Regions from separate parts of the Homo sapiens genome. Here region 1 is linked to region 2. Evidence: promoter capture Hi-C in 16 types of primary human blood cells and fetal thymus (Javierre and others, 2016). All regions are on one chromosome and are shown on one strand. Each heading gives the region's core, a stretch centred on a gene start or on the middle of the fragment in contact. The rest is flanking DNA. Distances are from core to core; before and after follow the strand shown.

Region 1 (3,162 bases), core at 463-2,962, 200 kb before region 2:
TTTATAGGCTGGGTGTGGTGACTCATGCCTGTAATCCCAGCACTTTGGGAGGCCAAGGTGGGCAGATCATCTGAGGTCAGGAGTTTGAGACCAGCCTGACCAACATGGTGAAACCCCGTCTCTACTAAAAATACAAAAATTAGCCAGCAATGGTGGTACTGTAATCCCAGCTACTTGGGAGGCTGAGGCAGGAGAATTGCTTGAACCTGGGAGGCAGAGGTTGCAGTGAGCCGAGATTGTGCCATTGCACTCCAGCCTGGGCGACACAGCATGACTCCGTCTCAAAAAAAAAAAAAAAGAGAGATTTATAGAGCGGGAAAATTTTGCTTCAGGAACGAGGCAGAAAGTCCAAAATTCCTTGTCTAGGTTGTATTGTTCTAAGTATTATAAATTGAATTGTTGTTTAATTCAGTGGACTATAGAGGGCAGTGTTTCACAGTTTAAAGTTACTGATTTTTCTGTGAAACTAAATACACTTCAATTATGCTTATTTTGTGTATTTCTCTAATAGACACACAATAAAAACTATAAGATTAGAAATTATTTTTTAGCTGTACTTAATAAATAAAAATACATTTTAATGTAAAATTATAATAATTTCAATAAAGATAATCTTATTATCTTTACATCCCAAAATGATGTACTTTTGGGATAATAGATTAGAATTAAAAATGACTTTGTTTTCTTATTCAATCCATGTAAGTTAAGAAAAATAAGCATCATATGGTGATCTAAATTTATTAGAAAATTTAGAGAAAATTAGTATCCTGTGCAACTAAAATTTTCTTTTGCAAAAGAATTTTTTTTTTTTAAAGAGATGGAGTCTCACTATGTTGCCTAGGCTAGACCTGAACTCCTGGGCTCAAGTTATCCTCCTGCCTCATCCTTCCAAGTAGCTGGGACTACAGGTGCACACTGCCTTGCCCAGCTTGCAGAAGACTTTTTTAAGACTTCTTATTTGTGCATTAGAGCAGAATAAGCTTTTTGCAGATACAACAGTTACACATTTTAGTAGATTAATTGAATTATGATGTTAAAGCTATAGCTAAAAGAAATAATCTAGAAATAGTTTCTTTCCTGATTTTAATAAAACATTTCTGACTTATTTTAGTAAAAAAGTAACCTGTGTGTATTAGTTGGGAATTAAGAACTAGAACTGCATTTTATCTGTTTTTTAAATTATAAGGAGATTATTTTTTCTACTGAAAAAAAAATTCGTTCTAATGATAAACTCTATTATGACATGTTTTGTTACTAGGAACAGAGATTGATTATATTTTGGGCCAAATTTATTAACCTCCATATAGAGGTAATTTTCAGTACAGAAAAGCATGGTGTGTTATTAAAAACATTTAATGGTCTATCCTACTGACTTTATAAAGAGTTATGCAATATTTAGGAACTGTAGGATTCTTAATGCTTGTGTGTATGCTCTTATATGTGTGTATGTGTTTGTTAGTGGTCCCTGTTTGTGGTTTAAAAATGTATAGCAGTCCTCCCTGATCTATAGTTTTGCTTTCTGAGGGGTTTCAGTCACCTGAGGTCAACGGTGGTCCAAAAATATTAAGTGGAAAATTCCAGAAGTAACCAATTGATAAGTTTTAAATTGCATGCCCTGTTGTGATAAAATCTCTCCTGTCCCACTCCATACATCCCTTTGTCAAGATGTATCCATTACCTGTTCCTGTATAGGAAAAAACATAGTGTATATAGGGCTCTGTAGTGTCTACAGTTTCAGGCATCTACTAGGGGTCTTAGAATACATACCCCATGGATAAGGGGGTATAATGTTATACAAAGCATTATATTGTGTAATGTTTTGGTTAGCTTCAGAGGGGAACTGGTTAATAGATATATAATCTGATATATTCATTGGATATTTTCACATTTCTTCCATCCATGTACTTGTGTTGTTTTTGAGTTTTCTTGTTTTTTTTGTTTGTTTTTGTTTTTTGTGCTTTTTTTGAGACAGAGTCTCACTCTGTTGCCCAGGCTGAGCGCAATGGCATGATCTCAGCTCACTGCAACCTCTGTCTCCCGGGTTCAAGCAATTCTCCTGCCTCAGCCTCCCGAGTAGCTGGGATTACAGGTGCCCGCCACCACGCCCGGCTCATTTTTGTATTTTTCGTAGAGACGGGGTTTCACCATGTTGACCAGGCTGGTCTCAAACTCCCGACCTCAGGTGATCCGCCTGCCTTGGCCTTCCAAAGTGCTGGGATTATAGGCGTGAGCCACTGTGCCCGGCTGAGTTTTCTTGTTTTATTTGCCAATTGTACTTTTAAATTTTCTTTTGTGATACTTGTCAGTTGAGGAAAAGAAGCATTGTATTAGCCTATATGTGTGCATAGGCAAAAACCTTTGAGTGACAACTTCATTCTTTTTTTAAAAAAAAAAAATTTAACCCATTTATGCCTAGTGTTCCATTATTGGAATGCAAAGCTTGTGGGAGTTATTTACATCCTACTGCTCAAGGTCATTGCCAAGGTCTGATTTTCACAAAAAAAATTTTCAACCTCCGGCATAAATGAGTTAATAATATAACTTAAACAGAACGTGTGAATGCTTTTTGGCTTCACATTCCATCTTTAAATAACACCATAGTTTTGCATCAGAGATCTCAAATGATTTTACCTGGGGATAAACTTCTAGTCTTTTCATTGGTATTGGTGGGATTGGGTTGCATTGGAACCAGATTCAGATTTTGGTATGTGATAGTTGTTTGTTTTGCTATTTTCCCCTAGCCATAATATATACCTGAGTGCCTAGACATGATAAATGTTATCTTCCAGTTGTCCCGTTTTTCCTTAGGTTGAATTTTAATATATTCAATAACAAATTTAGTGAAACTCTTAATAATCCATGTTGTTGATTTAAGTAAAAGGGAAAATGAAAAGTGCCCCACCAACTCTTTCTAGGTGTTATAGCATTTTCCATCATATGGTAAACACTAGGTCATTTTACTTTATTTTTTTACATGAATGTTCATAGTCGCTTTATTTATAATAACCCCAAACTGGAAACCAAAATTTCCATCAACAGGAGAAGGCTAAACAAATTATGGTGTATCTACAGAATGGAATACTAAATAGGACCAAACTATTGGTATACATAACATGGTGGCTCATGCCTGTAATCCCAGCACTTCGGGAGGCCAGGATGGGA
Region 2 (2,959 bases), core at 157-2,656:
CCCAGAGGGACAGGAATAAATTCCAGCTGGCTAAATTCCAGTTTGCACATGGAGAGCTTCCTGATGGTAGATGGGTGCACAAGGTGGGTGGGAGCTGCAGCACCATTCAGGACAGCGTTTCCCACAGCAGTGCAGTCTGTCGCAGGAGTGGCAACTCGTAAAGCGGGGGTTGGCCTTGCTCTGGCCTCAGGCTTAGTGATTTGCTACTGCAAACCTGCACAACGGGGAGTCCCTGCACCACCACTGGCCAGAGAGTTCTGGCTTTCTGACCATGGGACTGCAGCCCAAGGCATGGCAGGTGTCCAGCCAGCAATCCAGAGAGATGCAGCCCAAGAACCACTTAGAACCCTTTGGACAATTTTAGGGCTGCTCCCTAAATTACTCTTCCCAACCAAGGTAGGCCAAAAAAAAATTGCTGGTTCCTGGAAATGACCAAAACTGTCCTCCAATTGAGTCAGCTAGGACAGCAGAGAAAGCTTTCAGAGGGGTAGACTTGCAAGCTCATCTAAACCAACTCCTTCAAAACAGACTCCAAATATTTCACCCTACAAGGGATGGGGAACTCTGGAAGACTGGCATCAGCCGATATGGCTGAACAGACTGCAGGTTTGGAATCCAAATGTGTCTACAAATGTTCACTGATTGATTGTCATTTTGTTCTCCCCACATTTTAGTTTTGCTCATTTTACAGCCCACAGCCTGTCTTGTGGAATAAATGATACAAGCAATTGAAGAAGGCACACTGTGCACCAAGGGGACGACTCAGGCAATCTGCAGCGGTGGTCCAGGGCTACTCAGCTCAGCCTCAGTCACCTGCAATGAAAACCACCTCTTGCCATCAGAGTCAATGATATAGATGGGACACTTAAAAACCAAAACAGGTTCATATTCTCTGGTTTGTAGGAAAGAATTCATATCTTCACAGCAAAAATAAAAAAGGAGGGGGCATGTTTTTAATATCAAACTGGCCATCAAAGTGTTCACTGACCTTTAATAACTGATCTTTTCATTTTGAAATATAGGGTTCAATAAGGATGGTCCAGAAATCACTTTTATTTTACTCAAGGGCTGTGAGGCCTCTACCTTAGGAGTCTCAGTTCTGGTGAGAGCAGTGTTTTGGGAGGCATTGTGTGAGACACACCAGTTGGAGCAAAGTTCCCAAAGGCCAAGGGGGCCTATCACAGTCACCTTGTGCTACCAAAGCACTGAGCAGCCAAGCCCCTAAGCAGAACAGCAGGGGAGAGACCCAACAAGCCAGTGTCCCTAGAGCTCTAGGCCATTACCCCCTGTGCTGTGTTCTGAGATGAGTCTGCTCTCCCACTGCTTCCCCAGGGAAACAATGCCCTAGTGTGGTCTCACAGCCTTCTAGGAATCAGCGGAGGACTTCCATTGAAAATAATGGAAATTCACATTGGCGTACTTTCGATCCTTAAAAGGCAAGTCTCTTTTGATCCTTGAAGATATTCTCTCAAGCCAGGGGGGCAGGTAGGGTGGGGAGGAGAGAAGTTTAAAAAGGAGGATGATCCATTTCATCGAGCCAAGAGCCTGGGCTAGTTGGAAAGTCGGGATAGCCTACACTGCTTCCTGTGGAGATGTCAGAGGTGGGTCCCCCAGCCATGGCTCTCAGCGTCTGGCTTACTCCCTGCCCTGCATGCGCAATGATGCCCAAATTACTGTCCACCGTGTAATCCAGCCCATTGAGCAAAGGAGCGTGGGATGGCAGGGACGATATGGAGGATGGAGACTGGGGGATTCCATAGGGGCTCCCATCCCTCAAGTCCTGATAGGATTGTCCTGTCCCGTCCATGGAGAAGCTCCCATTCATTAACTGTCCGCCTGTAACGTCCCCCACGTTGCCATAAATCCTATTGGTGTGGCCAAGTTCTGAGAGAATTTGATCCTCTGTGGACAAAAGAACGGAGATTTATTGTCAGCTGCCAGGACTCTGATGGTCCCCTGCTCTTCACAACCTAGGAACACACATGACCAGGAAAGATGCCCAAGGATGGCAGCTGCCTTGCAGCCAAGCATGGGTCAGACACACCAATATGGCAGCCTGATATCCAGAGGCCAACCCAGGCCAAGGAGAAAAACAAGAAACACCTGCAAAGACTAAATTCCCAGGTCCCAGAAGGATGGACAAATGTTTGGTGAGCTCGTTGGTCCCTTGTGGCTCGTGTACTAATACTCTGGCTACACTGAGGAGGATGAATGCCTAAGGCTGGGTGGGTCAGATGTCTCCACATCACAAATGGAAACTACATGCTGACAACATTTACCCTGAAAGCTTTCAAGCTGAGAAAGGGCTTGGTTTAGTTGATTGGGAAGCAAGCAGGCCCATATGGTCAGGGAAGCTGAGGACCACTCTTAGACATCTGTACAAAATCCTTCTGGTCTATCTGGAAGAGAGGTTCAATATCAAAGGACTTGGTTTCTGTCTGTATTCAATAAGCTCTTCACTGGGGACAAAGAATTGACTTGATTAAGGCAAATGAACCTTCTTTTTTCTTAAAGAATTTCATTAAGGGGATCTAATGGAATCTTTGCCACTTGAAAGAATTTCTCTCTCCAACAGAGGTGAGCAGTTTTAGTCTTTGAGAAATTATTCCCAGAGAAACCAATGATAGGTCAGCCCAGGGACCCACCTGCACCCAACAGAAATGAGCTTAACAATCCAGTATGTTCTAGGTGTTGACTTCAACAGCCCAGATGAGATTGACTTTCCCAATCCTGCCAAGAAGCCTAAAAGGTGAGTATTAGTCCCATGAGCTGTCCCCAAGGCCTCACGGGCCCTGTGTTCTCAGAGGAGGCTGCCCTCTAGGGCTCAGCTGACCTCTGGGCTGAACTAGAGTCCTCCCAGGGCATCGTTGTCCTGGCAGGCAACTTGTTCCATCCTCTGTCCCACAAACTTCCTTTTCTATTTCCACCTGGGCCTCTGCACCAATCCCTAAATAAGGCC

What was found. The method cuts DNA at HindIII sites, captures the fragments that hold promoters and counts their contacts. A CHiCAGO score of 5 or more calls a contact.
Region 1: a contact is called between a fragment that was not itself captured here and the fragment with the promoter of LHX4-AS1 in region 2, in 7 of 17 cell types (endothelial precursors, monocytes, M2 macrophages and 4 more). The highest score is 9.0, in endothelial precursors.

Annotation. Positions count from the first base shown.
Region 1 is chr1:180,475,628-180,478,789 of GRCh38, reverse strand. All of the region lies in intron 3 of ACBD6 (acyl-CoA binding domain containing 6), which reads left to right. Among named protein-coding and RNA genes, the nearest start is that of ACBD6, 25 kb to the left of the region's middle. The HindIII fragment of the contact is 1,459 bases long and covers 983-2,441 here.
Region 2 is chr1:180,273,128-180,276,086 of GRCh38, reverse strand. LHX4-AS1 (LHX4 antisense RNA 1) reads left to right here and starts at 1,406. Exons shown (of 5, transcript NR_037642.1): 1 at 1,406-1,436; 2 at 1,975-2,150; 3 at 2,689-2,749. It overlaps LHX4 (LIM homeobox 4), which reads right to left. Exons shown (of 6, transcript NM_033343.4): 6 at 1-1,902. The coding sequence ends at 1,508. It also overlaps a transcript of ACBD6 not described here. The HindIII fragment of the contact is 1,811 bases long and covers 479-2,289 here.